Regions from separate parts of the Homo sapiens genome. Here region 2 is linked to region 1. Evidence: promoter capture Hi-C in 16 types of primary human blood cells and fetal thymus (Javierre and others, 2016). All regions are on one chromosome and are shown on one strand. Each heading gives the region's core, a stretch centred on a gene start or on the middle of the fragment in contact. The rest is flanking DNA. Distances are from core to core; before and after follow the strand shown. Region 1 holds the start of CLEC12A-AS1 (CLEC12A antisense RNA 1). Region 2 has its middle 17 kb from the start of CLEC2D.

Region 1 (5,311 bases), core at 2,795-5,294:
ATACTGTGCTAGACTGGACCTATTAATTTCTGACATGAGACTGCTCTTTTTACTTCAAGGAACCATAAAAGCCTTGGGATTGACTCCAGCCTACCCAGATGTAGGGATTTCTAAGTCTCAGAGAGAGCTTAGTGGAAAAGTAAAGTTAATTCTGTGTGTACATACAAAAGTGCGTTTCTTTCCAACCACAAGATTCACCTGTTTCTCTGTTCTCTGATCCCTGTGTATGCATTCTTCCCATTTTCATGAGTGCATCTGAGGGCTGTGGGTTAGTGATTTTCCTTGACCATAAATCCAGTAATTTTGTTTCCTGTTGAGTGGAAGGAAAGAAAGGCAGAACCTTAAGAAATATTTCATTCATACAAAATTACTTTTTAAATAAATATACAATGTTTTCTGGAACCTCGTGATTGTGTTGGATTTTTTTTTCCTATTTATTTCATTAACCATTTCATAAGGAAAGGTTTCCTCTGACTCTTTAGAATGGACAGCTTCTTTTAAACCTTTAAATCATTGCATCTGCCTGTAATTATTTCCATTTTTCTAGCATTGGATTTTGAGATGAGTTACTTCAGAATGAGTATTTAAATGTTTTAGACAAAAGTAGATAAAAAAATCTGTATCATTGTCACATTTTTTGAGATTTAGAAGCCAACTTGAGTTGCAGTAACCAAAAATGTGGTCTGGCAAAGCCCACAGTCCCTGGTGGGTTACGATCTGAAGATGGTCTGAAGCTGAGTTGGTTGTCTGGCAGCATTCCCTTGACTGGCCTCACTTCCAGGCACTCCTGCACAGAGCTGTGGGGTGTTCATTCCCCATCAAATCTCCTGTTGCCCTGAAAAATTTAAAGAGGCAGAGAAAGTGACAACTAGACCTAGCATTTTGGTGTATAAGTGCATATATTTCAGTTTTTTTGTTATTGTTGTTACGGCAGTCTGAATTTAGAACTTTGTGCTAACAACAGGTTACAGCAACCCTAGAGTCCATCAATGGGTGGAATAAAAATATGTCATATATACATACAATGGAATATTATTCAGCCTTAAAAAGGAAGGACATTCTGACACAAGCTACAACATAAATAACCATCGAAGGCATTATGAAGCTTCTTTTACTAGCAAAGTTACTTTCCAGAAACCTTAGTAGCTGCGATCTTGCTTCAGTCCATAAGCTTTCTGTGACTTGACTTAGAGTAGCAGGCAATTAGTCCATAAAAGAAACATAATGAATATCCTGATGCCTCTCAACCATCTGGAAAATATTAACCGGGCACCGAAATACTTGATAAATGCTGTGAAAAACATGGGATTGGGTGGTGAATAGGTTGACTGACAAGGTATGTAGAAGAGTGGGGAGAGTGTACTTTAGGGTGGGTGGTGAGACTAAGTCACTCTTCTCATTAAAAGAATGTGTGCTGCCTGTACAAATTTGTCTTCATCTTTTTCAGCCAATCCACTCCAATGGGCTTATGGATATGCTGGCCATATTAACAAATTAAGACACAAGATTTCCAGTTAAATTTGAATTTCAATCGACCACAGATAATTGCAGAGACAGCAAATACAAATATTGATGAGCAATACTTACATTAAAAATAAGTCATTTTTACCTGAAATTCAAATTCTGTTTTCCCACACATAGCTACATTATTTCCTGCACGTAGCTACATCCCTCCTCTGCTATGTAAACCCCCAATTTCAGTCACTTGGGGAGATGAATTTGAGACTGATCTGCAGTTCTTCTCAGCTGCAGCAACTGAATAAAGTCATCTCCCCTGGAAATACTTGCCTCAGTGATTGGCATTCTGTGCAATGAGTAACGGGACCTAGGCTGAACCTCTGGCATTTCAGTAACAGATTTTGGTTCCCTCATCAGGAAGACATTGCTCTTGGCTTGGCTGTCACCAGTTGGGAGAATTTCCGCAACCCTAAGCAGCAGCCTATGTGTTTTAGGCAGGATGTGGGTTTTAGTCTTTCTATTTAGCATTGCTGCTGCCAGCCCCAACCACATTTCTGATTGCCTAGGAAGAACAGCCTTTCAAATTTGACTTCTGCATGTGGATAGGTGAGTGTCTTTTGTGGATACCGACAGTGGGAATGGCTCCTCTCAATTTGAGAAATTCTGAAGGAATTTCCATTGGCAAGTTCAGCAAGGCCAACTGACGGAGAGAGGAAGCACCCTGACTGTTCCAGTTCAGACACTCTTGGGGCTTGTTAGTAATTGAGTATGTGTCTGGATAAGTGAGTGTCATTTGTGGGTCCAGACAGCAGGATCTGCTTTTCTCAATTTGAGAAATTCCGAAGGAATCTCCATTTGCAGATTGAACTAGCCCAACAAACAGGGAGAAAGCAACTCAACTGTTTCAGTTTGGACTCTCTTGGGACTTGCTTATTGTTGCAGCAGTTAGATTGTATTCTGGTGGTTGTTTGTGTGTTGATGTAGTTGTGGGAGATCAGGGTTTGATCTGAGTGCAGACCGCTTGGGTGTATTCTTCAGGGTTGGTCTGCATGTGGCTGTGGGCCAGTGGAGTGAGGGAACATCTCTACCCGTATCACGCTGAACATGCCCAATCTCATCTGATCTCAGACAGTCTTTGAATTGTAGCACTGCCTTATATTTGGATTTATTTTGCTGTTGAATGTGAATATGGGATGGAAGTCCATGTCTCCAGGCTTCTATGCTGCTGCTCTAAGGACAGGCAGGCCTGATTAGTATGTGCTGCTGTTTGGCTACAGAGTTCTTTGGAGTCTGGAGAGATTTGGCCTTTAAAAATCAAACTGTCAGACCCTGTCTCAAGGAAAAAAAAAAAAACAGGATGTGAGCGCTCTCCCTCTCCCTCTCCCTCTCCCTCTCCGTCTCCCTCTCCCTCTCCCTCTCCGTCTCCCTCTCCCTCTCCCTCTCCGTCTCCCTCTCCCTCTCCCCACGGTCTCCCTCTCATGTGGAGCCGAAGCTGGACTGTACTGCTGCCATCTCGGCTCACTGCAACCTCCCTGCCTGATTCTCCTGCCTCAGCCTGCCGAGTGCCTGCGATTGCAGGCACGCACCACCACGCCTGACTGGTTTTGGTGGAGACGGGGTTTCGCTGTGTTGGCCGGGCCGGTCTCCAGCCCCTAACCGCGAGTGATCCGCCAGCCTTGGCCTCCCGAGGTGCCGGGATTGCAGACGGAGTCTCGTTCACTCAGTGCTCAATGGTGCCCAGGCTGGAGTGCAGTGGCGTGATCTCGGCTCACTACAACCTACACCTCCCAGCAACCTGCCTTGGCCTCCCAAAGTGCCGAGATTGCAGCCTCTGCCCGGCCGCCACCCCGTCTGGGAAGTGAGGAGTGTCTCCGCCTGGCCACCCATCGTCTGGGATGTGAGGAGCCCCTCTGCCTGGCTGCCCAGTCTGGAAAGTGAGGAGCGTCTCCGCCCGGCCGCCATCCCATCTAGGAAGTGAGGAGCGCCTCTTCCCAGCCGCCATCACATCTAGGAAGTGAGGAGCGTCTCTGCCCGGCCGCCCATCGTCTGAGATGTGGGGAGCGCCTCTGCCCCGCCGCCCCATCTGGGATGTGAGGAGCGCCTCTGCCCGGCCGAGACCCCGTCTGGGAGGTGAGGAGCGTCTCTGCCCGGCCGCCCCGTCTGAGAAGTGAGGAGACCCTCTGCCTGGCAACCACCCCGTCTGAGAAGTGAGGAGCCCCTCCGCCCGGCAGCCGCCCCGTCTGAGAAGTGAGGAGCCTCTCCGCCCGGCAGCCACCCCATCTGGGAAGTGAGGAGCGTCTCCGCCCAGCAGCCACCCCGTCCGGGAGGGAGGTGGGGGGGGTTAGCCCTCCGCCCGGCCAGCCGCCCCATCCGGGAGGGAGGTGGGGGGTCAGCCCCCCGCCTGGCCAGCCATGCCGTCCGGGAGGGAGGTGGGGGGGTCAGCCCCCTGCCCGGCCAGCCGCCCCGTCCAGGAGGTGAGGGGCGCCTCTGCCCGCCCCCCCCTACTGGGAAGTGAGGAGCCCCTCAGCCCGGCCAGCCACCCCGTCTGGGACGGAGATGGGGGGTCAGCCCCCCCGCCCAGCCAGCTGCCCCGTCCGGGAGGGAGGTGGGGGGGTCAGCCCCCCGCCTGGCCAGCCGCCCCGTCCGGGAGGGAGGTGGGGGGGTCAGCCCCCCGCCTGGCCAGCCGCCCCGTCCGGGAGGGAGGTGGGGGGGGTCAGCCCCCCCGCCCAGCCAGCCGCCCCGTCCGGGAGGTGAGGGGCGCCTCTGCCCGGCCGCCCCCTACTGGGAAGTGAGGAGCCCCTCTGCCTGGCCAGCCGCCCCGTCCGGGAGGGAGGTGGGGGGGTCAGCCCCCTGCCCGGCCAGCCGCCCCGTCCGGGAGGTGAGGGGCGCCTCTGCCCGGCCGCCCCTACTGGGAAGTGAGGAGCCCCTCTGCCCGGCCACCACCCCGTCTGGGAGGTGTGCCCAGCAGCTCATTGAGAACGGGCCAGGATGACAATGGCGGCTTTGTGGAATAGAAAGGCGGGAAAGGTGGGGAAAAGATTGAGAAATGGGATGGTTGCCGTGTCTGTGTAGAAAGAAGTAGACATGGGAGACTTTTCATTTTGTTCTGCACTAAGAAAGATTCTTCTGCCTTGGGATCCTGTTGATCTGTGACCTTACCCCCAACCCTGTGCTCTCTGAAACATGTGCTGTGTCCACTCAGGGTTAAATGGATTAAGGGCGGTGCAAGATGTGCTTTGTTAAACAGATGCTTGAAGGCAGCATGCTCGTTAAGAGTCATCACCAATCCCTAATCTCAAGTAATCAGGGACACAAACACTGCGGAAGGCCGCAGGGTCCTCTGCCTAGGAAAACCAGAGACCTTTGTTCACTTGTTTATCTGCTGACCTTCCCTCCACTATTGTCCCATGACCCTGCCAAATCCCCTCTGTGAGAAACACCCAAGAATTATCAATAAAAAAAAAAAAAAAAAAAAAAAAAAAATCAAACTGTCAGCTGGGCGCAAGAAACTGAGGTGGGCAGATACTTGAGCCCAGGAGTTCGAGACCAGCCTGGGCAACATGGTGAAACCCTGTCTCTACAAAAAATACAAATATTAGCTGGGTGTAATGGTGCATACCTGTAGTCCCAGCTACTCAGGAGGCTGAGGTGGGAGGATTACCTGAGCCTGGGAGGTTGAGGCTGCAGTGAGCCTTGATCACACCACTGCACTTCCAGCCTGGGTGACGGAGATCCTGTCTCAAAAAAAAAAATAATCAAACTATCATGGAAACTGCTTTATTCAAAATTTTGTTTCACAACCTTTATTGGATTACCTATCAGAACAAATAAAGTTCAACCATGTGAACATGTT
Region 2 (7,753 bases), core at 1,712-4,211, 300 kb before region 1:
AAGTTATATTCTTACTAACTAAGCCAAATGTTATATTCTAAAGAATGTTTACAGAACCGAAACTAAATATTTGTTACCTGGTACAGTTGTGAAACTTGTTTTTTAAAATGCATCCTGTGATTTAAGTTTTTCAGATCCTGAAACTGAGTTAAAATTTGATCAGTAATAATGCTTTATTTCTCTGTTCTTCTGAGAGATAATTCCTAATGTTGTTTTTCCAACTAGAAGTCTGAAGAGTTATTGTGTTCAGTGTGTACCTTAAGAGTGGTATGAATTTGCGGGAGTCAGGACACACTGTAAGAAAGGTAGAAGAGAAATAAGTGAGCAAGAGAGAAGTGGAACAAGATGCATGTGGGAATATTGCTGCAGGACTTTTCCTTATTTCAGCTAAAAATGGGATTCTTTGTCCCACGGCCACGGAAATTCAGGCTCGCAGATGGTTTAAAGGGTGTGTGAAGCAGAGTTTTATTGGGTGAAAAAGGGAAAAAAAGGGGGAAACAGGTACTCTTGCAGGGCCAGAGTCCTTCCGCCGGAGCGCTTCCCACCTGACAGTTTGAATCCCAGGTTCTACAAATGAAAAACTGGGGCCAGGCTCAGGCTTCTCTCTGCTGCAAACCTTGTGAACTTCCCAAGGCTCCACCTCAGTGGGCAGGCTAATTGGAGTTTCTCCAGGGACCCCTTCCCACCTGGCTGTCTCAGTATTAGTAGGAGGGGCTAGAGATGTAAAAAAGAAGAAGAGAAAGCAGGCACATTTAGAAGATTATTAAGAGAGGCAAATGGGAGATTTGGGGGAAGTTTTAAGGGGAGAGTTACACATTACCCTAGTAGCAATGAAAAAGAATTACGGAAGTCTTAGTATTCTGAACCTTTAAGACAATTTTGCGTTAGTGTAGAACCAGAAAGAATAAAGGTTGATATTTTTATATGAGCCAAAATCCAAACGATATTTACTGCTTAAGATCATCCAATCTTACCCATCTTTCCCCCTGTCTAGAATTTAAGCTGAAGCTCCCTGTTATTCTTGTAGATGTATATTAAACGGACGAAAGTTGGCAGGGACTTTTAAAGTATTATAATTTATATTCAGTAAAATTCACTCTTTTGGTGTAGATTTCTATGGTAAACATATATACTCATGTTACTACCATAAAAGTCAAGATATAGAGCCATACCCACCCACTCGAAATTCCCTCATGTCCCTTTGTAGAATGTCTCTTCCTCTACCGCTAGCCCTTGGCAACCACTCATCTGTTTTCTGATCTTGCACTTTTGCTTTTCCAGAATGTCACATCGATGGAATCTTGCAGTAGGTAAATGTAGAATCTGACTTCATTCACTTAGCAATAATGCATTTTCAAGTCATCTGTATTATAGTATGTATCATTTGTCAAAGAAAAACAAGTCTGGACTTAGGGAGAAACTTTATTCAAAAGGACTGTTGCAATAGGAATAACACTGATTTCAAAAATATGTTAGGCCAGGTGCGGTGGCTTATGCCTATAATCCCAGCAATTTGGGAGGCTGAGGCGGGTGGATCACGAGGTCAGGAGATTGAGACCATCCTGGCTAACCTGCTGAAACCCCGTCTCTACTAAACAAAATACAAAAAATTAGCCGGGCATGGTGGTGGGCATCTGTGGTCCCAGCTACTCGGGAGGCTGAGGCAGGAGAATGGCATGAACCCGGGAGGTGGAAGCTTACAGTGGGCCGAGATCATGCTCCTGCACTCCAGCGTGGGCGACAGAGACTCTGTCTTAAAAAAAAAAAAAAAGTTAGTGGTGTGGGAGAGAGCAGGCAAAGTCTAGGCGTTTCAGCAGGAAATGGTGCAATGTGGTCTGTGGTCAGGTTAAGGCAGGATGTTTTTTGCAAGTCTGTGCTTTGAGGCATTTAGGCAAACTTGCGGGCAAACACGTGTAGGGCCTGTGGGGAGGAGAAAAACCTGACAAAAGTTTGGCCAGCTAACACACAGTAAGAAATTGACAATTGTGAATGTGTGATCGAGTTTTTTCTTTTATTAGGGCTGAGGAATAGTTGTTTACCTCTTCAGCAGCTGAAGCATATTTGAGTTGTTGCTAGTTTTTTGTGATAATGAATAAACCTGGTGTAAAATATTCCTTACAGGTTTTTGGGTAAACACAAGTTTTCACTTCCCTTGTTTAAATACCTAGGGATAGGATGGCTAGGGCATGTGGTGAATTTACATTTACCATAACAAACTGCTTAACTGTTTTCCAAAATGCCCATAACATTTTGCATTTCCAGTGATGATGCATGAAAATTCCAGTTGCATCCTGTCCATTCTCTCACTGCTATAAAGAAATAGCCTGAGACTGAGTAATTTGTAAAGAAAAGAGGTTTAATTGGCTGACCATTCCACAGGCTGGCCAGGAAGCATGATTCTGGCATCTGCTCAGCTTCTGGGGATGCCTCAGGAAACTTACAATTCATGGCAGAAGGCAAAGGGGGAGTCCATACTTCACTTGGCCAGAGCAGGAGGAAGAGAGGAAGTGAGGGAGGGCACCACACAGTTTTCAACCGCCAGATCTCACGAGAACTCACTCTTATCATGACACAGTGCCAAGGGGGAAATCTGCCCCCATGATCCAATCTCCTTCCACCAGACCCCACCTCCAACGCTGGAGATTACAATTCAACATAAGATTTGGGTGGGGACAAAGATCCAAACCATATCACATCCCTTCCTCACCAGCAGTTGTTTCTTTTTCTGTTTTGTTTGCCACTCTAATAACCATGTAGTAGTCACTCATGGTTTTAATTTGTATTTCTCAAATGGCTGGTTATTTCAAGCATGTTTTTATGCACTTGTTTGCTATTCATATATCCTCTTTAATCAAGTATATCTCCAAATCATTGGCCCACTTTTTAATCTAGTTTTCGTTTTCTTATTGTTGAGTTTTGAGTTCTTAATATATTCTAGATACAAGTCGCTTTTTAGAGAGATGTTTTTCTGCCTTTGCTTGTCTTTTTATTCCCTTTTCAGGGTTTTTTTTCTAGCAGAGAGTTTTAATTACGTTAAAGTTCAATTTATCAATTTTTAAAATATTGATAATGCTTTTGGTGTTGTATGTAAGAAATTTTTGCCTAATTCAAGTTCACAAAAATGTAATTTTCCTCTTCTAATAGTTTTAGGGTTTGAGGCTTTATATATGAGTCTAAAATTTATTTTGAGTTAATTTTCTTATAAGGTATTAGGTGTGAGCTGAGGTTCACTGTTTTGCATTAGGACACTCAATTGTTCCAGCACTACATGTTCAGAAAATATTACCCCTTACCTACCTGATTACTTTCCACGTCTGTCAAATGTCAATTGATGATACACGTTTAGATTTGTTTCTGAAACCTTTTTTCTGTTCCATTGATTTATGTGTCTGTTCTTTTGTCAATATCATACTGTCTTTGTTTCTATTACTTTGTAAATTACGAAAGCAGGTTCCCTGATTTCCAAATTTGGCCATTTTTTTTTCCTTCAAAATTGTTTGGCTATTCTAGTTCTTTGCTTTTTCATATAATTTTAAAATTACCTTGCTTATTTCTACAAAAAATTCATACTGCAATGTTTATCAGTATTGCACTGAATCTCTAAACCTGTTTGGGTATAATTGACATCCAGCAATATTGCATATTCCAATCTATGAATATCTTATATCTCTCTGTTGATTCAAGTCTGCTTTGATTTCTTTGTCCCTTTGGTTTCCAGCTTTCATCATACTGATCCTAAACATATTTTGATATATTTATTTGATATCTTTCATGTTATTATAAATGATACTGTTTTTATATTTAAATTTCCACTTCATAATTATGAATATGGAAATATAAGTGATTTTTATATATGAACATAGGTAATCCTGTAGCTTTGCCAAATTCATTTATTCTCATAGCCATTTGGTAGATTCCTTAGAATTTTACATGCAGACAACTGTGTTGTCTGTGAATAGCAATGCTTTTATTTCTTTCCAATCTGTATGACATTTATTTCTTTTTTCTTGCCTTTTTGCCCCTAATAGGACATCCAGTAAAATGTTAAATTGGATTGGTGAGAGAGATCAGACATCCTTGCCTTGTTCTATGTCACTGGGGGAAAGCATTTATTCTTTCATCGTTAAGGTTGTTGCTAGTTGTAGTTTTTCTGTAGATGCCCTTTATCAGGTTGAAGAAAGTTCTTCAATTTCTAATTTGTTGAGTCTTACTATCGTGGATGAATATTAAGCTTTTCACATCCTCTTGCTGCATTTATTCAGATGCTCATATGTTGTCCCTTGTCTCATTCTGTCAATATGGTGAATTACATTGATTTATTTTCTGCTTCCCTTGTTGCTTCTAACCAGCTGCTTTACTATGGGGCTAAATCTGGATTGTGTATGTTTCTTTTTCATCCCAATTTCTACTCTTTTTCCAGTAACTGGAAGATTCCCTGGGGGTGGGGAGAATTCGATTTTTATCTCTAGCCCTCTTTGGGCCATTATTCTCATTTATGAACCAAGCCCTTTTGTGAAAGGAGTTGGCAGTAGGAGAATTGAAGTACATCTGATCTTAGTGTTGATTCTATGATAAATTTTTTCTCCCTACGATATTCCTGAGATTGAGATTCTGATGTTTCTATTTTACAGATAAAACTCTGCAAAGACAATGTCTAGCACTTATATCTCCAGTAACTCCTGTCAAGGTTTATTGTTGCTTGTTCATCATTGCAGTCCTGACTACAAGTGTGATTGCACTTTCTATTGTTTTGTCAGGTAAGTTACTTGTTCTCCAAACTGTACAATATTCTCCATATGTTTTTGTTGTCAATAAATATTTATTAAGCTCCATTATGTGCCTGTCACTGTGTGAAATGCTTGAATTACATCAGCAAACAAAATACACACAAAAGAATTCCTGCCCTTTGGAACTTATATTCCAGCAGAAAAACACAAGTAAAAATAAATAAGGGTGGAGGTATAACAGGTTGCAATAGGTTGACAAAACTAAGCCTTCTTAGGAAGGTGACATTTCAGCAACCTTTTGAAAGAGATGGAGGAACCATGTGAAGGAACCTATTCCAGGCAGAGAACAAGTAGACCAAAGCCTGAAGGAGGACTCTTCCTGGCTTATTTGAGGAAGAGCAAGGAGGCTGCTGTAGGTGAAGCAAAGTGAAGATGGAGAAGAAGAGTGATACCATGGGGAATCAGGAACGGAGGAACCTTGAGGGTCAGTTAAAGACTTTGGCTTTGACCTTCAGTGCAATAGGGAGACTAGATGAGGGAAGTTGTACGAGAGGAATGTCTTGATGTGACTTTCATTGTAGAATAATCATTTAATTGCTATATTGAGACTAGGTAGGGGAGGGTGGTCAGACTCTGGATATTTTGAAAGCTGAGCCAACAGTATTTTATGTCAAATTGGATAAAACGTCTCAGAGGAATGTCAAAGGTAAGCCTGTCTTCTTTTGAGCCTTGGCAAGAATGCATTTGCCGTCCATTGATATGAGAAAGGCTATGGGTATAGGAATTCCGCTTACGGAACTATTTCCTGACAAGTTCCTCTCAGAATTGTCATTTTTTATTAAAAATAAAGTAAGATCTCTACTTGAAATGTTTTCAGGCAAATCACCTGGCCTTAAGAGCTGGTATCTTCTACTTAAGCAGATTGAGAATGCACGAAAGTACAGAGAACTGTATACATAAAAAAATCATCTCTTGTATAGAGGTAATAGGTCCTCAGCATTGCTTTGTCAAGAGAAAGAAGGGCTAATATGAGGGAGGATATGGAAAAATCATCCGTATGACCCTGTGAAAGTACAGTACTATGGAAGTCGATGCTATAGAAATTGATTTCCTTGAAACTGTTAGTGTCAGTGTAAATTTCAGAAAGTCAAGGGTGCAGATACCCAGCTGGAAACCACCGGACTGACGATTGTTGTGCTTAGGATAAGGCACTTTGTGATGAGTTAGGAAAACAACAATCAGATATGTACACTTCAAAATTGACCTCAGGAAGGTAAGCAGAAAAATAGATAAAATGGGTGAGAAAATTTCTTTATTATGTTTCATTGTGATTGTCTCACTTTTAGCAAGAAAGGAAAAGCCAGTGGTAGAGTCATCTAAATACGCTGCTTGCCCAAAAAGCTGAATTAGATTTAGGAGTAAATGTTTTTATTTTTCTGAAGGCATAAGAAATTAGACATTGAGTCAAACGTTCTGTGTCTCATTAGAAGCCAGCCTTGCTCAGTTTGCAACTATGGAGGAACTGGTAAGAGATATTTTTGGATCATGTTTTCTGTTAAATACTTAGCCCCCTGAGGCAGGTCGGCTACATAGGGTTAAAGCTGAAATACTAAGAAGGATCCCATTCCAGGGGCATGAGATGTGTTTTCATGTCTAACATTTGTTGAGGGTGTGTTCTCTGCCTGGAACCCTGTGAGACATTTTAGATATATTTCCCCATGTAATGCTCATGGTGAGCTGGTAAGATGAGATGTATTGTTCTCATTCTATTAAGAAGTAAGGTAATTATATAATTTGTCATCTAGATTAAGACATATAGGGCATTAAAAGTGATCATTAATACATTGGTGGAATGACAAGCATAAACTGAGAATTTCCCAATGAAACTGGGATTTATGCTCACTTTAAATAAAGTAATTTAGGATCAGAGACGTTAAATGACTTAAACTGAGAACTGGGAATTAGTCTCACTCCAGAATTTATGCTGCTTAATTATACCACGCTGCCAGTGAAAAAGAGAAGGGATAGGGAAGAGAGACTCCAGAGTAATATGAAAGAAAGGGGCTCATGGTGTTAGTTTCTGTTTTATTATAGAATTTCCTGAAAAGATACAAAGGCCCTTCTGACCATTGGATTGGCCTTAGAAGAGAATCATCCCATCGCATTTGGAAATGGACAGACAACATGGAATATAATAACATGTATGTTTTGAGACTTCTCATCTTTTGCTGTGTTTATGTATGGTTATGTGTGTGAGTTGTGTTTATGAGATAAGAAATGTAGTATCATGGAAAACTTACTGCAATATGAGGTAAGAAATCTAAACCCTTTTTATGCTCTTCAGTTGGTTAGCTGTGTCTTTGGGAAAGCTTTACCTGTGATTTCAGTTGAAGTCTTTAATGTGACAGTGACATTTCTCACAATTTTACACTTTCATCCACTGATTTAAAACTGCTGAAATCCCTACTTATAGCTGATGTGCAACAAAGGTTCTACAATCATAGGAAGCCACTGAGGAGCTGATATCCACAAGGCTGTTAAGCCCACTCTTGCAGGTGTTGCATCCATTTACAATAGGAAAGCATCCAGGGAACTCATGGGAATCTCTCCCTCCTAAAGCTTTATCACCAGAAGGAAACTAGTAACAGTTCCTTGGACTGTGAACATTTCAAAGGGGTATTTTGAATATAATCATTACATTGCAGCAGATAAAATGTAGGAACCCAGTCATATCCATTAATCAAAGCTAAGCCCTTTCAGGAATTTACTAGTTTTTTTTTTTTTTTTAGTTTTCACACATTTACAAAACAATTTGGGAGGAGGCTGGAAATCATCTTGACTGAAGACCACCAATGGCAGCAGTTCATTTGGGTACAGCAGCAAGCATCAGTTAAATACCTATCAACATAGCTGGGCTTGGTATGGATGAATGATAAGCTTGTGATTTTCAAGCAAGGACCTTGAGGACATAAAGGACACTAAATACAGAAATGGTTTATATTACTATGAAGCAATATTAATGACAG

What was found. The method cuts DNA at HindIII sites, captures the fragments that hold promoters and counts their contacts. A CHiCAGO score of 5 or more calls a contact.
Region 2: a fragment that was not itself captured here is called in contact with the fragment with the promoter of CLEC12A-AS1 in region 1 in 1 of 17 cell types (neutrophils); the score reaches 5.3 in neutrophils.

What each region holds. Positions count from the first base shown.
Region 1 is chr12:9,949,293-9,954,603 of GRCh38, forward strand. It overlaps CLEC12A-AS1 (CLEC12A antisense RNA 1), which reads right to left and starts at 4,045. Exons shown (of 3, transcript NR_135047.1): 1 at 3,258-4,045; 2 at 1,610-2,787; 3 at 1-835. LOC124902874 (a long non-coding RNA gene) reads left to right here and starts at 2,365. Exons shown (of 2, transcript XR_007063207.1): 1 at 2,365-3,745. It also overlaps a transcript of CLEC12A not described here. The HindIII fragment of the contact is 17,088 bases long and covers 1,170-5,311 here.
Region 2 is chr12:9,649,052-9,656,804 of GRCh38, forward strand. It overlaps the pseudogene LOC374443. Among named protein-coding and RNA genes, the nearest start is that of CLEC2D, 17 kb to the right of the region's middle. RefSeq lists a silencer at 825-874 and an enhancer at 1,650-1,829. The HindIII fragment of the contact is 2,535 bases long and covers 1,695-4,229 here.